Linked DNA regions of Homo sapiens: all the other regions are linked to region 2. Evidence: promoter capture Hi-C in 16 types of primary human blood cells and fetal thymus (Javierre and others, 2016). All regions are on one chromosome and are shown on one strand. The core of a region is centred on a gene start or on the middle of the fragment in contact, and the rest is flanking DNA. Distances in the headings are between cores, read along the strand shown. Region 1 overlaps LINC03006 (long intergenic non-protein coding RNA 3006). Region 2 holds the start of KCTD7 (potassium channel tetramerization domain containing 7). Region 3 holds the start of CRCP (CGRP receptor component). Region 4 overlaps LOC105375336 (a long non-coding RNA gene). Region 5 has its middle 25 kb from the start of ASL. Region 6 has its middle 5.6 kb from the start of ASL.

The links. The method cuts DNA at HindIII sites, captures the fragments that hold promoters and counts their contacts. A CHiCAGO score of 5 or more calls a contact.
Region 1: a fragment that was not itself captured here is called in contact with the fragment with the promoter of KCTD7 in region 2 in 1 of 17 cell types (total CD4 T cells); the score reaches 6.2 in total CD4 T cells.
Region 3: a fragment that was not itself captured here is called in contact with the fragment with the promoter of KCTD7 in region 2 in 1 of 17 cell types (neutrophils); the score reaches 6.1 in neutrophils.
Region 4: a fragment that was not itself captured here is called in contact with the fragment with the promoter of KCTD7 in region 2 in 10 of 17 cell types (M0 macrophages, endothelial precursors, M2 macrophages and 7 more); the score reaches 17.7 in M0 macrophages.
Region 5: a fragment that was not itself captured here is called in contact with the fragment with the promoter of KCTD7 in region 2 in 2 of 17 cell types (endothelial precursors and M1 macrophages); the score reaches 6.0 in endothelial precursors.
Region 6: a contact is called between a fragment that was not itself captured here and the fragment with the promoter of KCTD7 in region 2, in 4 of 17 cell types (neutrophils, endothelial precursors, M1 macrophages and 1 more). The highest score is 7.3, in neutrophils.

What each region holds. Positions count from the first base shown.
Region 1 is chr7:65,736,479-65,740,100 of GRCh38, forward strand. All of the region lies in intron 2 of LINC03006 (long intergenic non-protein coding RNA 3006), which reads right to left. Among named protein-coding and RNA genes, the nearest start is that of SNORA22, 17 kb to the right of the region's middle. The HindIII fragment of the contact is 3,989 bases long and covers 1-3,340 here.
Region 2 is chr7:66,626,991-66,631,143 of GRCh38, forward strand. It overlaps KCTD7 (potassium channel tetramerization domain containing 7), which reads left to right and starts at 1,891. Exons shown (of 4, transcript NM_153033.5): 1 at 1,891-2,218. The coding sequence starts at 2,075. RefSeq lists silencers at 472-671, 1,682-2,251. The HindIII fragment of the contact is 8,113 bases long and covers 1-4,153 here.
Region 3 is chr7:66,111,215-66,115,125 of GRCh38, forward strand. CRCP (CGRP receptor component) reads left to right here and starts at 3,633. Exons shown (of 6, transcript NM_014478.5): 1 at 3,633-3,756. The coding sequence starts at 3,749. RefSeq lists a silencer at 2,509-2,699 and an enhancer at 3,346-3,475. The HindIII fragment of the contact is 6,002 bases long and covers 1-3,911 here.
Region 4 is chr7:66,027,105-66,030,682 of GRCh38, forward strand. The region is part of intron 3 of LOC105375336 (a long non-coding RNA gene); the gene reads right to left. It also overlaps the pseudogene LOC100419772. Among named protein-coding and RNA genes, the nearest start is that of GUSB, 47 kb to the left of the region's middle. The HindIII fragment of the contact is 4,637 bases long and covers 1-3,578 here.
Region 5 is chr7:66,049,312-66,053,283 of GRCh38, forward strand. No RefSeq gene overlaps it. Among named protein-coding and RNA genes, the nearest start is that of ASL, 25 kb to the right of the region's middle. RefSeq lists a silencer at 2,510-2,688. The HindIII fragment of the contact is 2,647 bases long and covers 968-3,614 here.
Region 6 is chr7:66,068,387-66,072,128 of GRCh38, forward strand. It overlaps the pseudogene LOC644667. Among named protein-coding and RNA genes, the nearest start is that of ASL, 5.6 kb to the right of the region's middle. The HindIII fragment of the contact is 2,432 bases long and covers 235-2,666 here.

The sequences.
Region 1 (3,622 bases), core at 96-2,595, 890 kb before region 2:
CCGGAAAACAATATGGTGTTAGTAACACTAAACACACGCAATTTATACAACCCAGCAATTCCACCTGAGGGAGACACTCAGGAGAAACTTTCATGAGTAGGCTGGGTGTGGTGGATCATGCTTCTAATCCCACCACTTTGGGAGGCCTAGGTGGGAGGATCGCTTGAGCCCAGGATTTCAAGACCACCCTGGGCAACATATTGAGACCTAATCGCTACAAAAAATAAACAACATTAGTGGGACGTGGTGGCACACACCTCAAGTCCCAGCTACTTGGCTGAGTTGGGAGGATGGCTTGAGCCTGGAGGTTAAGGCTGCACTAAGATCACGCCACTGCACTCCAGCCTGGGTGGCAGAGTGAGACTCTGTCTAAAAAAAAAAAAAAAAAAAAAAAAAGAGGCCAGGCACGCAGTGGCTCATGCATGTAATCCCAGCACTTTGGGAGGCTGAGGCAGGCGGATCACCTGAGGCCGGGAGTTCAAGACCAGCCTGACCAACATGGAGAAACCCCGTCTCTACTAAAAATACAAAATTAGCCAGGCGTATTGATGCATGCCTGTAATCCCAGCTACTGGGGAAGCTGAGGCAGGAGAATCGCTTGAACCCGGGAGGCAGAGGTTGCGGTGACCTGGGATCACGCCATTGCACTCCAGCCTGGGCAACAAGAGTGAAACTCTGTCTCAAAAAAAAAAAAAAGAAAGTTGTATGATTGGAGGAGCCACATATATAAGAATTTTTACAGCAATACTGTGAACATTCTCAGTTACTGTGATTACTGTGATACTCCAATAGCCATTGGAAACTTTAAAAAGAGAATATCATTTAATGTCATAAATGATAACTTACAACATAAACTGCAGGAGAGTAGTTACTTCTGAAAGTAAGAAAGGAAATGAGATTGAGAAAAGGTATGTAGAGTTAATCAATGGCATTATAGTAATAATGTTCCTTTAAGTAGGATAGTAGGTGTACAGATGCTTTTTGTATCTGTGTGTATAAAATATTTGCTAACAAATTTAATATTTCATATCAATATGTTAAATAGCAATACATTGCTGCCTGGGCACGGTGGTTCACACCTGTAATCCCAGCACTTTGGGAGGCCGGGGCAGGCAGATCACGATGTCAGGAGATCGAGACCATCCTGGCCAACATGGTGAAACCCCATCTCTACTAAAATACAAAAAAGTAGCTGGGCATGGTGGTCCACACCTGTAGTCCCAGCTACTTGGGAGGCTGAGGCAGGGGAATCGCTTGAACCCAGGAGGTGGAGGTTGCAGTGAGCCGAGATCGCGCTACTGCACTCCAGCCTGGTGACGGAGAAAGATTCCATCTCAAAATAAATAAATAAACAAATAATACCAATACATTAAAATAGCATGAATGTCTTAAAAGAACACAGTTTGAAATGTGATTTAATATAAACATTAGCATTCAAAATAAGTCACACCATGGAAATATGCCCATGATATGTCACATGAATAAAGGAAGTTGCAGAACATATATATAATGTGAGCCCCCATTTTTGAACAAATAAATCTCTACGTGTGTCTATATCCAGGTATGGTATATGGTTATACATCTATGTCTATACAGCTATATAAAAGATGAAACATTCATTTATTTATTTATTTTTATGTTTTTGAGACAGTGCGTGGCTCTGTCGCCGTCCAGGCTGGAGTGCAGTGGTGCAATCTCAACTCACTGCAATCTCCACCTTCCGGGTTCAAGCGCTGGGATTATAGACATGAGCCACCACATCTGGCCTACAGCTATCTTTATAATGGAAAAAGTGGGGGAAATTTATATTACAAAGCAATATGATTATAGTATAAGAACTGCAGCAATATTTGACCGAATCTTCCCCTTCCTCCTCCTAGAAATTATGCAAAGTGATAGGGAGACATAGTGGGGGGGAATGAGGCAGAAATCCCATATTCAGCAAAACTAGAAGACAAAAAGTCACTGGAGACTCCAAGACCTGCACAAGGGCTACCAAAGTTACACGCGAAGAGGCAGATGCAGATCCTAGGAAACACAACTAAAACAGACTCTCTGAAGATGAGCCGTTCATGCCACAGTCCAAAAATGTGTTGTTTGAAACAAGCACAGCAGAGCAGGGATAAAAAGAACTGAGGGCAAGGCTCAAACAAGCAGAAAGGGAGTTGAAACCCTTGTAATCCAAGGGGTGAAGGGCATCTCTCCTGGCCTGAGCATCTTATGGGCAGAGTTAAGGTCCTAACACCCAGCTCACTCTCCTAGGGAGGGCATGGGAAAAGAATCAGCCTTCCAAGTAAATTCAATGTAGGGTGTGTCACTAACATTCTATTTTGGCCAGCACGGTAGCTCATGCCTATAATCCAACCACTTTGGGAGGCTAAGGCAAGAGGATTGCTTGAGCCTAGGAATTTGAGACGAGCCTGGTCATCATAACAAGAATCTTTTTTTTTTTTTTTGAGATAGAGTCTTACTCTGTGGCCCAGACTGGAGCGCAGTGGCACGATCTCGGCTTACTGCAACCTCAGCCTCCCAGGTTCAAGCAATTTTCCTGCCTCAGCCTCCTGAGTAGCTGGGATTACAGGTGCACACCACCAAGCCCAGCTAATTTTTGTATTTGTAGTAGAGACGGGGTTTCATCATGCTGGTCAGGCTGGTCTTGAACTCCTGACTTCATCATCTGCCCATCTTGGCCTCCCAAAGTGCTGGTATTACAGGCGTGAGCCACTGTGCCTGGCCCTAAGACTCTATCACTTGAGAGAGAGAGAGAGAGAGAGAGAGAGAGAGAGAGAGAGAGAGACAGCCAGTCGCGCCTGTAATCCCAGCACTTTGGGAGGCCAAGGCAGGTGGATTGCTTGAGTCCAGGAATTTGAGACCAGCCTGGGTGGCATAGCAAAACCCCATCTCTGCAAAAAAATACCAAAAAAGGCTAGACATGCTGGCTCACGACTGTAATCCCAGCTACTCGGGAGGCTGAGGCACAAGAATCCCTTGAACCCTGGAGGTGGAGGTTGCAGTGAGCTGAGATCGTGCCACTGCACTTCAGCCTGGGCAACAGAGAGACTGTCTCAAAAAAAAAAAAAAGGTAGATGAAGAGCTCACCAGAAACACAGGGGCTGTGTGCCCTATGTGCAGTGATTGGTGGTGATGCTAGGGAGTACTGGACTGGGAGGCGAAGCCCTACAGGGCCAGTTTAGAACAGTGCAAAGAAAAAATAACAAAAATAAAACAAAACAAAAAATAGTACACAGCAAAGGAGGCAGAACTACACAAAAACTACCAAGAGCCACATTGAATGACACAGTCTGACTGTGGCAGCTGAAAACCTTCGTTTGCATTGAGAAGCTTGTAAAACTACCCTGGTCCCTCTTGTCTTTCCTTCAGAGAAGACCCTTGCAAATGATCGGTCCAGGAAAATACAACTCATTCTATAATGAATTAAAGAAAAAAGGAAGGGACACCTTTGCTATGGGCTGAATGAACTGTGTTCCCCCAAAGTCCATATCTTGAAGTCTTAACCCCCAATACCTCAGAATGTGACTATATTTGGAGACAAGGTTTTTGTTTGTTTGTTTGTTTGTTTGAGACCAAGTCTCACTCTGTTGCCAGGATGGAGTGCAGTGGT
Region 2 (4,153 bases), core at 641-3,140:
CGCCTTGGCTTCCCAAAGTGTCTTCCAGCTATTTTGAAATATACAATCCATTGTTGTTAATTATAGTCACTACTCTGCTTTTGAACCATAGAACATAAACCTTTTTATCTAACTGTATGTCCTTCATTAACCTAAATCTCTTCATTTCTCACCCAACCGTTCCCAGCCTCTGGTTTCTTTCTACTCTCTAAATTTATGAGATCGATTTGTTTTAGCTGCCACAGATAAGAACATGCAATATTTATGTCTTTCTGTGCCTGGCTTATTTCACTTAACATAATGACGTCCATCCACGTTGCTGCAGATGACGTGATTTCATTCCTTTTCATCTGTGTTTAAACAAGGTCTCCCTCCAGGGATTTTGATGCAACTGAAGTTGGAGAAAACACAGACCTAGGACACTCCTGCAGCTGGGAGTGCGATGGTCTAACAGAGGAAGTGCTATGCCACCAGCTCATCTTTGCCATCCTGGAGCTGTCTAATCTACGACTCAGTTTTCTTTTCTGTCACTACACTGTGAGAATGAGATGAGGAACTGGGTGTGAAAACGGTTTGAAAAGGAGAAGCATGGTTGCACACGCCTGCGATCCCAGCACTTTGGGAGGCTGACGAGGGAGGACAGCTTGAGGCAAGGAGTTTGAGACCAGCCTGGGCAACATGACAAGACCCCATTTCTTAAAAAAAAAAAAAAAAAAAAATTTTTTTTTCTTTTTTGAGACGGAGTTTCGCTCTTGTTGCCCAGGTTGGAGTATAGTGGCCGTGATCTCGCCTCACTGCAATCTCCATCTCCTGGGTTCAAGCGATTCTCCTGCCTCAGCCTCCCTAGTAGCTGGGATTGCAGGTGTGCCACCATGCCTGGCTAATTTTGTATTTTTAGTAGAGATGAGGTTTCACCATGTTGGCCAGGCTGGTCTCAACTTCCTGACCTCAGGTGATCCACCCGCATCGCTTACCAAAGAGCCAGGATTACAGGCGTGAGCCACTGCGCCCGGCCAAAATTTTAAAAAATCAGCTGAGTGTGGTGGTGCGCGTCTGTGGTCCCAGCTACTCGGGAGGCTGGGGCGGGAGGATTGCTTGAGCCCAGGGGTTGCAATGAGCTATGATTGCGCCACTGCACTTCAGCCTGGGTAACAGAGTGAGACTTTGTCTTTTAAAGAAAGGAGAAAATGGCTTGAACGGGCTAAGAACCTTGACCCCCAGGAGACTCCCTGCGCTGATAGAGCCTCTAGGGCTGGACTCCGCCTCCCAGGGAGCCGGGAGCATCTTGGGGAAGGGCCTGTCTCCATCTGTGTGTCCCGGTGGAAAAACGGTCACGGTGGGGAGTCACTGTCATTATTCATTGAACTCAAGCGCTCCTATTTTGGGTTTTCTCGTTCGGATTTCTGCGCGAGCGAGTGAGGAAGAACTGGACACCCGGGCGGTGCCCTGCGGCTCGGGGCGGGGCCAGCCGCGGTGGCGTGTCCGCAGCCACCTCAGCCCTCCTCCCGCCACATCCTCCAGGAAAGGCTGCTCAGGCCTTCCATTGAGGAGACAAGGACCCGCTGCTCTGGGGCCAGACACACGAGTAAGTCGTGACCCCCTGTGTGAAGGGATAAGGCGTCTACCCTGACGCGGGTGAGAACCCTCTTCACGGCAGACTCCGACGCCCAGTTATGAGAGCGTAGCGGCGCACCACCGCCGGGTCTCTCGGAGAGGGCGCGCCCGCTGGCCAGAGGACCAATCAGTGCACGGCAGGCTCGCAGGCCGCCCCCCCCCCCCCCCCCCAACCCAGGGACCACTCAGGCGCCGGCCGCTGGCGCTGCCTGCTCTTCGACTGGGCGAGCTTCCTGCCAATCAGGGCGGAACCAGCGCGGCGTCGGCCAGTAGCGGGAGGCGGTCGGGTCAGGCCCCAGCTGGGCGCGAGCGGGTCGGCGTTGAGGGAGCCACCGCCCTCCCGCCTGCGCACTGCCTCTCGCCCCCCTCCGGCCAGCCCGCAGCCGGCCGCGTCATGCCAGGCGCTGCTCGGCGGTAGGGAGTGCCCGGGGCCGCCGCCTCCGCCCGCCCGAAGCCGCGCCCACTGCCCAGAGCCAGAGGGATGGTGGTAGTCACGGGGCGGGAGCCAGACAGCCGTCGTCAGGACGGTGCCATGTCCAGCTCTGACGCCGAAGACGACTTTCTGGAGCCGGCCACGCCGACGGCCACGCAGGCGGGGCACGCGCTGCCCCTGCTGCCACAGGAGGTACCCGGGCGGGCGGCGGGCCGCGGGGCGTGGGGAGGGGCGCGGGGGAGAAGCGGGCGCGGGGCATAGCGGTCCTCGGCGGGTGGGCGGGGCCGGGGTTGGGGGCGGGGCCCGCGGACTTGCGCCCCTCCCCCGCCCACCTGCAACTCCCCCGCCCACCTGCACCCCTACCCACCCACCTTCAACCCCTGTCAATTACACCCACTAGGTGTGCTTCCCCACCCCCTACACCCTCCGCCCAGTAGTCACTGGGGTGATTTACTCCCATCGCCATGTCCCACTTTTACCGAAGACAGGAGGGAGGGTGGGCCGTGGGAGGGGGACCCTGGAGCCCCGAGAGCTGATGGTGTGTCTGACCAGGCACCGTAGCTCGAGCCTGTAATCCCAACACATTGGGAGGGAGGATCGCTTGAGGGCAGGAGTTGGAGGCCAGCCTGGGCAACATAGCGAGGCCCCGTCCCTACTACGACTGGAAAAACAAAGGCATTTTGGGTTGGATGAATAAAAAAAAGAAAAGAAAAAGATGTCTTCTAGAGAATCCAACAGGATGCTGTAGTGGTTGCCCACACCTAGTCTCCAGCTACCTAAGGAACAAGGCAAGGAGCTGTCTGCACATAAGGGGCAGGCCAGTTCATAGATGTAGGCACGGTCACCTGGCATCCCATGGCTTTCACTCACAGGCTGCTGTGCTCTGGTGCACAGGGGCTTCCACGGGTCTTACTTAATGTGTGTGATACTATCATGTCAACACCTGAAATGACACTCAAGAGACGGGAGAAGATACCAGGCATGGTGGCTCACATCTGTAATCTCAGCAGTTTGGGATGCTGAGGTGGGAGGATTGCTTGATCCCAGCAGTTAGAGACTAGTCAGGGCAACAGTGAGACCCTGCCTCTACAAAAATGAAAATTAGCCAGGCTTGGTGGTGTGTGCCTGTAGTCCCAGGTGCTCAGGAAGGTGAGTTGGGAGGATTGCTTGAGCCCTGGAGGTTGAGGCTGCAGTGAGCTGTAATTGTGCCACTGTACTCCAGCCTGGGTGTGATAGAGTAAGACCGTACCTACAAACAAACAAAAACAAAAAAAGCAAGAGAAGGGAAACGATGCCAGGTGTGGTGGCTTACACTTGTAATCCCAGCACTTTGGGAGGTCAAGGCAGGAGGATGGTTTGAGGCCAGGAGTCTGGGACCAGCTTGGGCAACACAGACTCCATCTCTACAAATAAAAAATAAAGAGGAGGGAAGGTGAAGCATTACTGGACACCGAAGATGGCTTCTAGGAGGCAGGGACTAAGGTAGTGCCAGATCCAGGAGCATGTGGTATGCGGAGTCCCAGGACAATGGAGGCCCTCAACAATTGAGGCCCTCAACAGGCTGGGCTAGGTGATGCTCTTGGGAAGCAGATAGTGTTGTGCTGGGATTGCAAGCCCCATACACACAATGCCATGGGAAAATGAGCAAAAATCTAGAAGTAATCTCTGCAATTGGAAAAAAGTCATTAGTCACAGTGGTGCTATTTTTTTGTGCACTGTCATTGGGAAAATGATATGGTTTGAGGGAAAGAGCACAAGACCACAGATTGCAGACCAGGGCCCCACCACCAGTTCCCCCCACTGATGACATTGCCCCATGTGAGCTCCAAAACTGTTTCCGATGGCTTTTGTCCTCTCTGCTTCAATCCTCTCATCTCTAATATGGAGCAAGCACTTGGATTGGTATGAAGTATCTTTAGAAAAGGTTTAAAGAGCTCCAGAAATGTTAAGTATTATTATTCCAAAATGATATCTGAGCCCTTGATATACACATAAAATGGTTTTAGAGGACCTACAGAATAAGCGCAAGGCATTTTCATGTCCTGTGGGTGCAGAAGAGTAACAGTGCATACACACACGGAAGTGTAACTACCTGTCTATTTCTTTCATTCATTCGGTGAATTTTGG
Region 3 (3,911 bases), core at 792-3,291, 520 kb before region 2:
AAGGTACAGGGAATTCTCCACACTAACTAGGCCAGCTGGGTCTGGGTGGCATTTTATGACTTTTTTGTTGTCGTTATTTTGCGATGGAGTCTTGCTCTGTCACCCAGGCTGGAGTGCAGTGGCGTGATCTGCAACCTCCGCCTCCCAGATTCAGACGATGCTCCTGCCTCAGCCTCCTGAGTAGCTACGATTACAGGCACGAGCCATCAAGCTGGTTAATTTCTATTTTTTTGGTAAAGATGAGGTTTCACCATGTTGCCCATGCTGGTCTCAAACTGGGCTCAAGCGATCCACCTGCCTTCATCTTCCAAAGTGCTGGGATTACAGGTGTGGACCACCACACTCAGCAGAGTAAAAAATGTTTAACAGCTTTATTAATATAGGATTAATATGCTGTACAATATGCCATTTAAAGTATACAACTCAGTGTCTTCAGTATATTCACAGGGTTGTGCAACCACCACCACCATCTATAATAATTTTAGACAATTTCTGTTTCCCAAAGAGAAACTCCCTACTTATTAGCAATCACTTCCCATCCTTGCCCCCAACCTAGCCTTCTGTCTGTATCCATAGATTGGCCTCTTCTTGGACATTCTATATAAAGTGAATCATACCATATGTATTCTTTTTTTTTTTTTTCTAGAAGGAGTCTCATTCTGTCACCCAGGCTGGAGTGCAGTGGCGTGATCTCGGCTCACTGCAACCTCCGCCTCCTGGGTTCAAGCAATTTTCCTGCCTCAGTCTCCCGAGTAGCTGGGATTACAGGTGCCCCCCACCACACCCAGCTACTTTTTGTATTTTTAGTAGAGACGGGGTTTCACCATGTTGGCTAGGCTGGTCTCGAACTACTGACCTCATGATCTGCCTGCCTCAGTCTCCTAAAGTGCTGGGATTACAGGCGTGAGCCACCACGCCTGGCGATTTTTGTATTTTCGGTAGAGACAGGGTTTCCCCATGTTAGCCAGGCTGGTCTTGAACTCCTGATCTCAGATGATCCACCCACCTCAGCCACCCAAAGTGCTGGGATTACAGGCGTGAGCCACCTGGCCAGGCAATATATATTATTTTGTGTCTGGCTTCTTTCACTTATTAATAGCATCATGTTTTGGGAGGTTATCCATCTTGCAGCATTTATCTATCAGTCTGTCTATATATATTTTTTGCAACAAGGTCTCTCACTCTGTAGGCTGGAGTGCAGTGGTGTGATCATAGTTCCCTGCAGCCTCTACCTTCTGGCTCAAGCGATTCTCCTACCTCAGCCTCCCCAGTAGCTGGGACTAGAGGTGCTCACCACCACACCTGGCTAACTTTTCGTAGTTAGGGGGTCTAGCTATGTTGCCCAGGCTGCTCTGGAACTCCTTGTCTCAAGAAATCCTCCTGCCTCTGCTCCCCAAAGTGCTGAGATCAAGCCTGGCCTCCTTTTTATTTTTATATTTTTGAGACAGAGTCTTGCCCTGTCTTCCAGGCTGGAGTGCAGTGGCACGATCTTGGCTCACTGCAAGCTCTGCCTTCTGGGTTCACGCCATTCTCCTGCCTCAGCCTCCCTAGTAGCTGGGACTACAGGCGCCCACCACCACGCCCGGCTAATTTTTTTTGTATTTTTAGTAGAGACGGGGTTTCACCCTGTTAGCCAGGATGGTCTCGATCTCCTGACATCGTGATCTGCCCGCCTCGGCCTCCCAAAGTGCTGGGATTACAGGCGTGAGCCACCGTGCCCGGCCAGCCTCCTTTTTAAGTAGTTTTCCATTGCACAAATGTAGCACATTTTATTCATCCACTCATCAGTCTCTAGTTAATGCATCTGTTGTATATGTTCAGATTGGCTGGGGTTCAATACCCACTGGACAACTTCCTAGATGAGTGACTTTTGGTAAATCATAATCTCTCCAAGTCTGCCTCAGTTTCTTCAATTATAAAATGTCAATAATAATGCAATGTACCTCATAGAGAGTCATGGTTGTATTGCCACAGTAATTAATAAAGTGCCAGGAACTTTATAAGGATTATTTAACACCCTTATTATTTACAAAGTAGGCAACAGAGGCTATTGTGGTGGTTCACACCTGTAATCCCAGCACTTTGGGAGTTGGAGGTGGGAGGATCACTTGAGGCGAGGAGTTCAAGACCAGCCTGGGCAACACAGTGAGACCCCCATCTCTACAAAAAAATTAAAAAATTTTGTAGCTGACTCTTTGGACAATAAAGAATTTTATTTTAGAAAATTAGCCAGGTGGCTGGGTGCAGTGGCTCACGCCTGTAATCCCAACACTTTGGGAGGCTGATGAGGGTGGATCACAAGGTCAGGAGTTCAAGACCAGCTTGGCCAAGATGGTGAAACCCCGTCTCTACTAAAAAAATACAAAAATTAGCTGGGCATTATGGCGGGCACCTGTAATCCTAGCTACTGGGGAGGCTGAGGCAGGGAACTGCTTGAATCCAGGAGGCAGAGGTTGCAATGAGCCGAGATCACGACACTGCACTCCAGCCTGGGCAACAGAGTGAGACTGATCTCAAAAAAAAAAAAAAAGAAAAAGAAAAAGAAAAAAAGAAAATTAGCCAGGTGTAGCGGAGCGCACCTGTGGTCCCAGCTACTCTGGCAGGCTGGGGTGGGAGGATTGCTTGAGCCCAGGAGTTCAAGGCTGCAGTGAGCTCTGATTGCACCACTGCATTCCAGCCTGGGCGACAGAGCAAGACCCTGTCTCTTAAAAAATAAATAAATAAACTGCAATGTTTCTGGCAGCCCAGATGCCACCAGCCTCACTACTCTCTGAGAGGTGGGATTTTAACATGCAAAGGCCCACTAACCCGATCACGTCTCACAACTTCAGCTGATTAATACTTTGTTAAAACCTAGACCACGAAAACAGACAGAGCCCGGCGAGGTGGCTCACGCCTGTAATCCCAACACTTTGGGAGGCCGAAGCGGGTGGATCACGAGGTCAGGAGTTCAAGACTAGCCTGGCCAAGATGATGAAACCCCGTCTCTACTAAAAAATACACAAATTAGCTAGGCGTTATGGCGGGCGCCTGTAATCCCAGCTACTCGGGAGGCTGAGGCAGGGAATTGCTTGAACCTGGGAGGCAGAGATTGCAGTGAGCCGAGATCGTGCCACTGCACTCCAGCCTGGGTGACAGAGCGAGACTCTGTCTCAAAAAAGAAAAAAAGAGGCTGGGCACGGTGCCTCACGCCTGTAATCCCAGGACTTTGGGAGGCCGAGGCGGGCGGATCACGAGGTCAGGAGATTGAAACCATCCTGGCTAACACGGTGAAACCCCGTCTCTACTAAAAACACAAAAAATTAGCCGGGCTTGGTGGCAAGCGCCTGTAGTCCCAGCTACTTGGGAGGCTGAGGCAGAAGGAGAATCGCTTGAACCCAGGAGGCGGAGGTTGCAGTAAGCCGAGATCCAGCCTGGGCGACAGAGCGAGACTCCGTCTCAAAAAAAAAAAAAGGTTAAAGAAAAAAAGAAAAGAAAACACAAGATAATCCTGTCCGCAAACGCTTAGCAGTCTTAAATCGGCCTGGTGGAAGGATGCAGGGACACTCCCCCACCCTGCCCCCCGAAAAAGGGGAACGCGCAGCGCGAGGTTCCGGGTCCGCCAAGCTCCCGGCATGCAGCGCGGCGATCCCGGCGAGCACCTTGGCGCGCGGAGCTGGCACCTTGGCGCTGTTGGTGGCGGCGGAGACAGCTGTGAAGTGTGAGGTTCTTTGTCTGCTGGCAGCTAGGGGCGACGAGGCGGGACGTCATGGAAGTGTAAGTCTTCTCGGGCGCGTCCCTTTTCGCCCGAGGAGCCCAACGGTTTGACCGCTGAGAGCTGAGAGCCGAGAGCCGTGGGGACTGGGCGACCCTCGTACGGGAGTGAGGGCAGCGGGCCGGCCCTGTCCGGGAGGGCCGCGGGGTGGTGACGG
Region 4 (3,578 bases), core at 356-2,855, 600 kb before region 2:
TATCCTGAGCCAGGTGCGGTGGCTCACACCTGTAATCCCAGCACTTTGGGAGGCCGAGGCAGGTGGATCACAAGGTCAGGAGATTGAGGCCATCCTGGCTAACACGGTGAAACCCCGTCTCTACTAAAAATACAAAAAATTAGCCAGGTGTGGTGGCGGGCGCCTGTAGTCCCAGCTACTATCGGGAGGCTGAGGCAGGAGAATGGCGTGAACCTGGGAGGCGGAGCTTGCAGTGAGCCGAGATCATGACACTGCACTCCAGCCTGGGCGACAGAGCGAGAGAGACTCCCTCTCAAAAAAAAAAAAAAAAAAAAAAAAAAAAAAATGGTATCCTGAACTGAATCCTGGAACTCAGAAAACAGCAGTGGGAAAACAAGGTATTCAAATAAAATTTTAGCTTAGTTTAATAGTATGTACCAATGTTAATTTCTTGGTTTTTCATGGTATAGACCATGGTTATGTAAGATGTTAACATCGGAGAAAACTATGGGAAGGGTACACAAGAACTCCCAGCACCTGTCTCTACAACTTTTATGTAAGAGAAAAATGGCTGGGCGCAGTGGCTCACACCTATAATTCGAGCACTTTGGGAGCCCAAGATCGGCGGATCACCTGAGGTTGGGAGTTCGATACCAGCCTGACTAACATGGAGAAACCCCATCTCTACTAAAAATACAAAATTAGTCAGGCGAGGTGGCGCATGCCTGTAATCCCAGCTACTCAGGAGTCTGAGGCGGGACAATCACTTAAACCTGGTAGGCGGAGGTTGTGGTGAGCCAAGATCGTGCTATTGCACTCCAGCCTGGGCAACAAGAGGGAGACTCCATCTCCAAAAAAAAAAAAGAAAAATGATTTCAAAATAAAAGGTGTTTTTTTAAAATTGATTTGCAATGGTCTGATATTTTCTCATGATTACACAGAATTTGTGGCTTTTGAAGAAGAATACAGATATAATTTGAGAGGAATTATAATTACATATTTTGGGAAGAATCTGAAACTTGAAAAATAAACAATAGCCTTAAGTGTCTAAGTCCCCAGCACTTTGGAAAGATGCGGTGAGAAGATCCCTTGAGCCCAGGGATTCAAGACCACCCTGGACAACAACAAAAAAATTAGCCAGGCATGGCAGTGCATACCCATATTCCCAGCTACTTGGGAAGCTGAGCTCGGAGCACCACTTGAGCCTGGGAGGTTGAGGCTGCAGTGAGCAGTGATTCCCTTTCAAGGAGAAGTGAGAGCAATCTTTTAGACTATTCCTTCTAACTTTGTAGCTGGCTAAACACTACACTTGACCAAACTCCTCCCACTTTTATAAACAGAATAAAAATCAGGTTACAGTAAAAGTATTCAAATCAGATAAAAGGCGATCTTGATTTCAGCAGCCAGTCGTTGGGAGAATAAACCCCCCTCCCTCAATGGTACTTTAGGTAGGCCTGGCAGAAGCCCAGCCTTACTTCATAGGTGATAGTGTTCAAGTTCTGTTGCCCAGAGCTGTGTTTATTCTTTCCACTTTCTTTACGCTGCTCTTTCAGATCAGTTAGTAAATGAAACACCCAGGAGAAGATACACAAAAGAAGTTTATGAATAAATTTGAGAAATATATCTATCTAAGGTCAGTGGTTTTGAAGGATAAACAGGAAACTGTAGTACTTCCTTTCACCCGCCCATTACGCAGCTTCCAATTCTTGGATTTGAGCAAATATGAGTCCCAGAGGCATATGACATTAAAAAAATGCTCTTTTATATAAGCCAAATAATCCAAATTCATTAATTTACCTAAAATATTTCAAATATGGCCAGGTGCGGTGCCTCATGCCTGTAATCCCAGCACTTTGGGAGGCTGAGGCGGGCGGATCATGAGGTCAGGAGATCAAGACCATCCTGGCTAAAATGGTGAAACCTCATCTCTACTAAAAATACAAAAAATTAGCCAGGCGTGGTGGCAGGCACCTGTAGTCCCAGCTACTCTTGAGGCTGAGGCAAGAGAATGGCGTGAACCTGGGAGGCAGAGGTTGCAGGTTGCTGAGATCACGCCACTGCACTCCAGCCTGGGCAACAGAGCAAGACTCCATCTCAAAAAAAAAAAAACAATTTCAAACATTTCCTATGAATATACACATCACTAATCTCCTCTGATCTCAAAAATATACTATTTGAAAGCAAATTTTCTTAAAACAAATATTTTGTTAAAAAAGAATTCTGCTTCTCTAGTATAAAAATCTAACATAGGCCAGGTGCAGTGGTGCACACCTTTAATCCCAGCACTTTGGGAGGCCAAGGCAGGCGGATCACGAGGTCAGGAGATCGACACCATCCTGGCTAACACGGTGAAACCCCATCTCTACTAAAAATACAAAAAAAATTAGCCGGGCGTGGTGGCGGGCGCCTGTAGTCCCAGCTACCCGGGAGGCTGAGGCAGAAGAATGGCATGAGCCCGGGAGGTGGAGCTTGCAGTGAGGCGAGATCATGCCACTGCACTCCAGCCTGGGCGACAGAGTGAGACTCAATCTCAAAAAAAAAAAAAAAAAAAAAATCTAACATAATAATTTCTTTCTGGAAAAGAAAAATTTTGAAGCAAGTGATAAGACAGAGTTTACCAAAAAAAGGGGAGGAAAAAATGCTATGGATTTTTAGAAGCAAACTTTCCCCACAAGGATAAAACATGCATGCATTAGAGTGCTGGAGGCAGGGGGGAATCTCAGTCTCATTCCTGTTTTAGAGATTCTACCACAGAAGTGAAGAAAATGCAGGCTCACACACCATCACTAAATACAATGCGACCCCTCTCATCTGCTGTTCCTTTCAGAAATAGTGGCATGAGATCAATGAATGCAATGTTTCCCCAATGGATAAAACACCCAAACGCCTAGCAAAGTCCAAACTGGACAAGGAGGCTCCTAAAAGCCAAAGGCTTGGCCAAAAACCATTCAACCATTTCCTTCCTGTTCTAAGCTGCAACCACTTGAGACTGAGCCTTTAGAGAGGAAAGAATATGGCCAACTCTGTTTATTCTACTACCTTCTTTTCTTTTGGGGGGATGTGGAAGGGAGGCGGTTTCTTTCTTTTTGCTGTCTTCCACTCTGGGAGCTTTTTTTAGGGGACAGGGTCCCAAAGGCTGTCTCCCAGGCTAGAGTACAGTGGTCATCACTGTAACCTCAAACTCCTGGGCTGAAGCAAACCTCCCCTCTGCCTTCCAAGTAGCTAGGACCATAGTAGGTGTTTGCTACCATGCCCAGCTAATTTATTTTTTTAAGAGCTGGGGGTCTTGCTAGGTTTCCCAGGCTGATCTCTAACTCATAGCCTCAAGCAGTCTTCTCTCCTTGGCCTTCCAAAGTGCTGAGATTACAGGCATGAGCCACAGCACTTAAGCTACTACCTTCTAGACCTCCTCTGAGTCTTCCTGAGTTTAGACTCTAGCACATGGAAAATTCACAGTCAAGGTATAAATGGTTCTTTCTACACCTGGAGTGAGCCTATCAGATGGTTTTGCTAGTGCCAAATAGGAGGCAAAAATGCTGGAATATCTTCCGTCTTACCAATCTTTTTCCTTCTTTTCCTTTCCCTGGGAACCCCACCCT
Region 5 (3,972 bases), core at 1,041-3,540, 580 kb before region 2:
AGTGCTGGGATTACAGACGTAAGCCACCACGCCTGGCCTTATTTAATTTTTTTGAGACCGAGTCTCACTCCAGCCCAGGCTGGAGTGCAATGGCGCAATCTTGACTCACTGCAACCTTCACCTCCTGGGTTCAAGTGGCTCTCCTGTCTCAGCCTCCCGAGTAGCTGGGATTACAGGCACGCACAAGCACACCCGGCTAATTTTTGTATATTTAGTAGAGACAGGGTTTTACCATGTTGGCCAGGCTGGTCTCCAACTCCTGGCCTCAGGTGATCTGCCCACCCCGGCCTCCCAAAGTGCTGGGATTACAGGCATCAGCCACCATGCCCAGCCGAAGCTACACACTTTTAAACAGCTAGGTGTCGTGAAAACTCACTCATTATTGCAAGAACAGCACCAAAGGGATGGTGCTATACCATTCATGAGAACTTCGCCCCCATGATCCAATGACCTCCCACCAGGCCCCATCTCCAGCACTGGAGATTACAATTCGACATGAGATTTGTGTGGGGACACAGATCTAAACCATATCGACTCCTAATCCAGTGGTCCCCAACCTTTTTGGCACCAGGAACTTGTTTTGTGGAAGACAGTTTTTCCACTGACTAGGAGGCAGGGAGGTTTCAGGATGGTTTAAGCACATTACATTAAACGTGCACTTTATTTCTATTATGATTACATTGTAATAGATAATGAAATAATTATACAACTCACCATCATGTAGAATCAGTGGGAGCCCTGAGCTTGTTTTCCTGCAACTAGACAGCCCCATCTGGGGGTGATGGGAGATAGTGACAGATCATCAGACATTAGATTCTCATAAAGAGCCCACAACCTAGATCCCGTGCATGCGCTGTTCACAATAGGGTTTACGCTCCTATGAGAATCTAATGCTGCCACTGATCTGACAGGAGGCAAAGCTCATGTGGGAGTGTGAGCAATGGGGAGCTGCTGTAAATACAGAAGAAGCTTTGCTCGCTCGACTACCACTCACCTCTTGCTGTGCGACATGGTTCGTAGCAAGCCACAGACTAGTACTGGTTTGTGGTTCAAGGTTTGGGGACCCTTCTTCTAACCTATAAAATTTTAAGACAATAAATTTGTGGGGTTTTGTGCAGCAGTTTGTTACTGCAGTAAGAGAAAATCAGTACATTCCCGTATATATCTGTTGTTCTGTGCAGTCTGTCTCCTGCTCACTCAGGGTCCAAGGTTACAAAATGCTGCTTCTCCAGGTCCGTCCCCACCTTTTCTGCAGGAGGCTGAGTACCTCTCAGATACCTCCTAGATAGATCCAGGTGTCTCAAAGTATGATATGCACACACACACACACACACACACACGCATGCACGAGCACCCCCAGAGTCTGTGCCCCCAATGGTGGCTGCCACCAGCCTCTGCAGTAGGGGCTGCTATCTTGCTGCGGCAGGCCAGGCTGCTGTTATTCCTGCGCCCTGAGGCATGGCCTCCTGCCTGACACGATTTCTGCAGATGCCTTGAGATGCTTTAATTTATTATTATCTTCATTCTCTGGCTGCTGGAGTCCATGGGGCCTTGTAGGGGGACAATCAGAGTGACAGTCACAGTGTCCCACTCAGGACTGCCCCTTGGACCTTCCAACCAAGCAGGAACCTTAACTCTGCCTTAACTTCCTTGGGAGGAAGGACTGTGTCCTGGAGGCTCCATGGTCCTGAGGGGGCCTGCTCTCCACTCCCAACCCAGCCCTCCAGGCAGGCCTGTCTCCTGGGGCCTCTGCTGTAGGCTTTTTCCCATAAACATACACAGTCCCCAGAAAAGTGCTTGAGATAGTGCTTGGCGCTTAGTAAACACTGCATAAGAATGCTTATTGGCCAGATGCCATGCCTATGCCTGTCACCCCAGCACTTTGGAAGGCCAAAGTGGGAGGATTGCCTAAGCCCAGGAATTCAAGACCAGATGGTGCAACACAGTGAGACCATGTCTCTACAAAAAATTAGCCAGGCAGGGTGGCATGTGCCTGTAGTCCCAGCTATTCAGTAGGCTGAGGCGGAAGAACCACCTGAGCCTTAAGGTTTGAGGTTACAGTGAGCAACACTGCACTCCAGTCTGGGTGACAGAGGGAGATACTGTCTCTTTAAAAAAAAGAAAAAGAAAAGGCCGGGCGCCATGGCTCACGCCTGTAATCCTACCACTATGGGAGGCCTAGGCAGGCAGATTGCCTAAGCTCAGGAGTTCGAGACCAGCCTGAGCAACACAGTGAAACCCCATCTCTACTAAAATACAAAAAAAAAAAAAAAAAAAAAAAAAAGGGGCCAGGCGTAGTGCCCGAGCATTTTGGGAGGCCGAGCCAGGTGGATCACCTGAGGTCAGGAGTTTGAGACAAACCTGAACAACATAGTGAAACCTTGTCTCTACTGAAAATGCAAAAATTAGCTGGGCGTGGTGGCACTTGCCTGTAATCCCAGCTACTCAGGAGGCTGAGGCAGAAGAATCACTTGAACCTGGGAGGTGGAGGCTGCAGTGAGCTGAGATCATGCCACTGCACTCCAGCCTGGGTGACAGAGCAAGACTCCATCTCAAAAAAAAAAAAAAAAAAAAAAAAAATTACAGTGGCTCACGCCTGTAATCACAGCACTTTGGGAGGCCAAAGTGGGCGGATCACCTGAGGTCAGGAGTTCGACACCAGCCTTGCTAACATGGTGAAACCCCCGTTTTACTAAAAATACAGAAAATTAGCAGGGCATGGTGGCTTATGCCTATAATCCCAGCTACTCGGGAGGCTGAGGCAGGAGAATCACTTGAACCCAGAAGGTGGAGGTTGCAGTGAGCTGAAATTGTGCCACTGCATTCCAGCTTGGGCAACAAGAGTGAACCTCCATCTCAAAAAAAAAAAAAGTGCTTATTAATAAATCCCGGCCGGACACAGTGGCTCACACCTGTAATCCCAGCACTTTGGGAGCCCAGGGCGAGCAGATCACCAGAGGTCAGGAGTTTGAGACCAACCTGGCCAACATGGTGAAACCCCATCTCTGCTAAAAATACAAAAAATAGTCAGGTGTGGTGGTGGTTTCCTGTAATCCCAGCTACTTGGGAGGCTGAGGCAGGAGAATCACTTGAACCTGGGAGGTGGAGGTTGCAGTGACCCGAGACTGTGCTTCTGCACTCCAGCCTGGGTGACAGAGCAACACTATGTCTCAAAACAAAACAAAAACAAAACAAAACAAAAACCCTTTATATTTTAGTCTAGTATAATTTCTGTAGCACAGGGATTAAGAAAACAAGTCCTGGCCAGGTGGGTGGCTCACACGTGTAATCCCAGCACTGTGGGAGGCCAGGGCGGGCAGGTCACCTGAGGTCAGGAGTTCAAGACCAGCCTGGCCAACATGGTGACATCCCGTGTCTACCAAAAATACAAACATTAGCTGGGCGTGGGGGTAGGAGTCTGTAATCCCAGCTACACAGGAAGCTGAGGTACGAAAATTCCTTGAACCTGGGAAACAGAGGCTGCAGTGAGTTGAGATCACACCACTGCACTCCAGCCTGGGTGACAGAGCGAAACTCTGTCTCCAAAAAAAGAAAAAAAAAGAAAAGAAAAAAGAAATAAATAAACAAAAAGAAATTGACACTTTCGGTCATAAAGCTTGAAACTTACATTTTATTTTACCTGAGTTCCTTCCTCAGGAAAGGATCCCCAGGCCTCTCAAAGTTTATCAAAGAACTGAAACTCACCAGGTCATGGCATCCTGACAATGAGACTCCGGACCCCTCATTCATCATGATTGCTTCCTTACCCCTCCTGAGTTCCTGTATTCCCACACATAGTTGCATTTCTTCCCTGCTGTATAAACCCCTAATTTTAGTAGTCAGGGAGATGGATTTGAGACTGATCTCCCATCTCCTCAGCTGCAGCACCCAATTAAAATCTTCCTTGGCAATAATCACTGTCTCAATGATTGGCTTTCTGTGCGGCCAACAGCTGGAGCTAGGCTGAACTCT
Region 6 (3,742 bases), core at 201-2,700, 560 kb before region 2:
GGCTCTGTTCACTTTTCCTCAATCTTTTTTCTTTCTATTCCTCAGACTCAATAATTTCCATTGTCCTTTCTTCAAATTTGCTCATTCTTTTTTGTTTTAGGCCATTCTTTGTGTTGCTATAAAGGACTACCAAGACTGCGTAATTCAGCAAGAAAAGAGGTTTCATAGGCTCATGGTTCTGCAGGCTTTGTGGGAAGCATGGTGCTGGCATCTGCTTCTGGTGAGGCCTCAGGAAGCTTACTTACATCATGGTGGAAGGTAATGGAGAGCCAGCCCATCACACAGCAAGAGCAGGAGCAAGAGAGAGAGGAGGGAGGTGTCACACACTTTTCAACAACCAGATCCCACGAGAACTCACTCACTATTGCAAGGAGAGCACCAAGCCATTCGTAAGGGATCTGGCCCCATGACCAAAACACCTCCCACCAGGGCCCACCTCCAACATCGGGATTACATTTAAATATGAGGTTTGGGGGGACAGACATCCAAACTATATCATTTATTCTGCCAATTTGTCATTTTAGTTATTATACTTTTTAGCTGCAAAATTTGTTCTTAGTTTCTTTTGCAGGTTTTCTATCTCTTTACTGATATTTCCATTTTGTTCATATGTTGTTTTATTGGCTTTTTCCATGTCTTCCTTTTTTTTTTTTTTTTTTTTTGAGACAGAGTCTCGCTCTGTCGCCCAGGCTGGAGTGCAGTGGCACGATCTCGGCTCACTGCAACTTCTGCCTTCTGGGTTCATGCCATTCTCCTGCCTCAGCCTCCCGAGTAGCTGGAACTACAGGCGCCCGCCACGGCGCCCAGCTAATTTTTTGTATTTTTAGTAGAGACTGGGTTTCACCATGTTAGCCAGGGTGGCCTTGATCTCCTGACCTAGTGATCTGCCTACCTCAGCCTCCCAAAGTGCTGGGATTACAGGCAGGAGCCACCGTGCCCGGCCTTTTTTTTTTTTAATCACCCGGGCTGGAATGCAGTGGTGTGATCTTGGCTCACTGCAACCTCTGCCTCCCGGGTTCAAGTGATTATCCTGCCTTAGCCTCTCGAGTAGCTGGGATTACAGGCATGCACCACAACGCCCGGCTAATTTTTGTATTTTTATTTTATTTTTTTTTTAAGAAAAGTTTTATTAATGTGTTAATATTTCAGCAAAGTTATTGCAATGGGTTGAAAACACAAACACACTGTTACAGGCTTTAAAGTGACAAACGAGTTTTACACAATTGAAATATTACACATACTTATGGGATTTATTGAATGATTAACAGACCCATAAAAGAAATTAAATCTGAAAGACGAAATCCAGTATTAGCACCTACAATATCTCTGACAGTTAAACTTTTAATGGTTTCTGTCTCCTAATGTATTTTTAAACTCTCTCCCTCATACAGTGCTCTCAAACCCCAAGGATGAACGAAAAGGCATAAGCGGCCCTGATCCTAGAAACGTACAACCAAAAGCAGAGCTACAAATATGGACTCAGACTTGAGAGTTTTACTTAGAAGTAACTTACTGTACTTGAGCCAGTCATAAGTTTTCTGTGCACTGAATACTGTATATGAGAAAATTCTGTGAGTCATAAGGTTTGGGTAGGGATAGTTAAAAATTAGTAATATACAGTATTATTCCAATCAAATTTTTTTCTCGTAAGTTATATTTGTAAGAAAACTATAATTAAAATATTTTTATACCTGCTTATTACATATCCAGGGACCCAGCAGGAACATCTATGTGTTTGATGGTTTGGCATCCACTTTATTGTGCTTACTGATTTTTGTGATGAACAAGCAACACACATCACATCTTCACAACCTTTAAGGTAATGCAACAAGGACATAACATTCTCCAAAGAAATAACTGGAAATTGCATTAAATACTGCTTTAATGAGGAATAATTGCTATAATAAAACAAATAACATTATACATTATTTTTTCAATGAGCTTCAGTTTGAGGAACTGAATAGTAGAAACAGATCTTAATATATGAGTCATGGTAAAACTGGTAAATCTTTGAAATCTAGGAGGTGCATTAGCAAAACCACAGCCACACCAACCTTTGCCAAAATCCTGGAGAAAAGCATTTTATTAATTTAGGGGAACAAGATGGAACACTGGCAAAGATACAACTTGTTGAGGTCTAAAGCTACCTGAGAAGCTGGCCCAAGGAATGAGGAGAACCAATGGTACGTACTGGTGGCAGATAATAAGGTTTGCACTGGGCTGACCAGCTGTGTTTTATTAAATGGCCTTCAATAAAAAAAGTGAAATGCTTCATTGTGTTTTCTCAGAAACTAGTCAAAAGATTACAGAGTCCTACACAATTTGGAGACACAAAGTGGATACTGAGCAACTAAAGGTCTTTCCAGGTGTGGAATTTTACAAAGTCCTTGGAGTAAATGGCAGTGTGGCTCTGGCAGCAGATAGGAATGATACTCTGGAGAGGAGGTAGAGACACTCTGCAGTCGGCCAATGGATACATGAGGGGCCCAGCTAGAAGTAGGATCTTTAATTCTATGGTTTATCTTCCATGGCTCATGCCTCTGCCTTCATAAATGGTAATTTCAATAACTCGCAGTCCTTACTCAATGGAGTCTGTCAGGAGAAGGCCTTGTGGAACATAGATCTTCTCATTCTGCTCTTGAATGCATTTGGAGACTTTCTTCAGAAGCTTCTGGTAATGAGTTTCCAAGCATAGGAAGATGGTATATGCTGTTAAACAAGCCAAACAACCTTCGAGATATGATTGGCCACCAAGCTTCTCTGCTTCTGCATAAAGGTTATTTAGAGTTTGAACTATTTCTTCAAACTGCTGCCTATCAATCTGGTTCTCCAGCTCCATGGAGAACATGGTCTGGAACTGGCAGCCTGTGCCACTGCTGTAGTCTCGCTGAATGAACACCTTTCTGGACTCTGGTGCCTGCCGCAGCCTCATGGCAAGGACAGGACAGGCCGCACTCTAATTTTTGTGTTTTTAGTAGAGACTTAGTTTCACCATGTTGGCCAGGCTGGTCTCAATCTCCTGACCTCAGGTGATCCGTTCACCTCAGCCTCCCAAAGTGCTGGGATTACAGGCGTGAGCCACTTCGCCCTGCCCTCCTATGAGTCTTTAATGCCAAGGATGCTTTGTCAAGATAAAGGCTCACGTCCATTTCAGTGTCAACTGTCAGGGACTCAGCTGCAGACACTTTTGACTCATCTGCTTTCTGTTTATTTGTTTTTGATTTTTTGTTTTTTGCAAGCCTTTATGCTGCCTTCCTGTCTTTTTTTTTTTTTGAGACCAAGTCTCGCTCTGTCCCCAGGCTGGAGTGCAGTGGCACGATCTCGGCTCACTGCAACCTCCACCTCCTGGGTTCAAGCGATTCTCTTGCCTCAGCCTCCCAAGTAGCTGGGGCTACAGGCATGAGCCACCGTGCCCAGCTTGCCTTCCTGTCTTTCTCCTCTTCCTGAGTCTCTTCCCCATCCCTACAGCATGGCCTTCACGTATGCCAAGCTTGCAAGCTTGCTGTTTGTTGCAAACAAACCTGGACTGACAATCTCTCTTCTGTCTTGTGGACAGCCAGACTGACTGTCCTCTTCTACCTGGGTGCCTGTGTACATGTCCTCTAACCCCTAACCCTAACCCTTTGCAGCTTCTGTTTCTTTTCTTTTCTTTTTCTTTTTTTTTTTTTTTGAGATGGAGTTTCACTCTTGCTGCCCAGGCTAGAGTGCAATGGCACGATTTCGGCTCACCGCAACCTCCGCC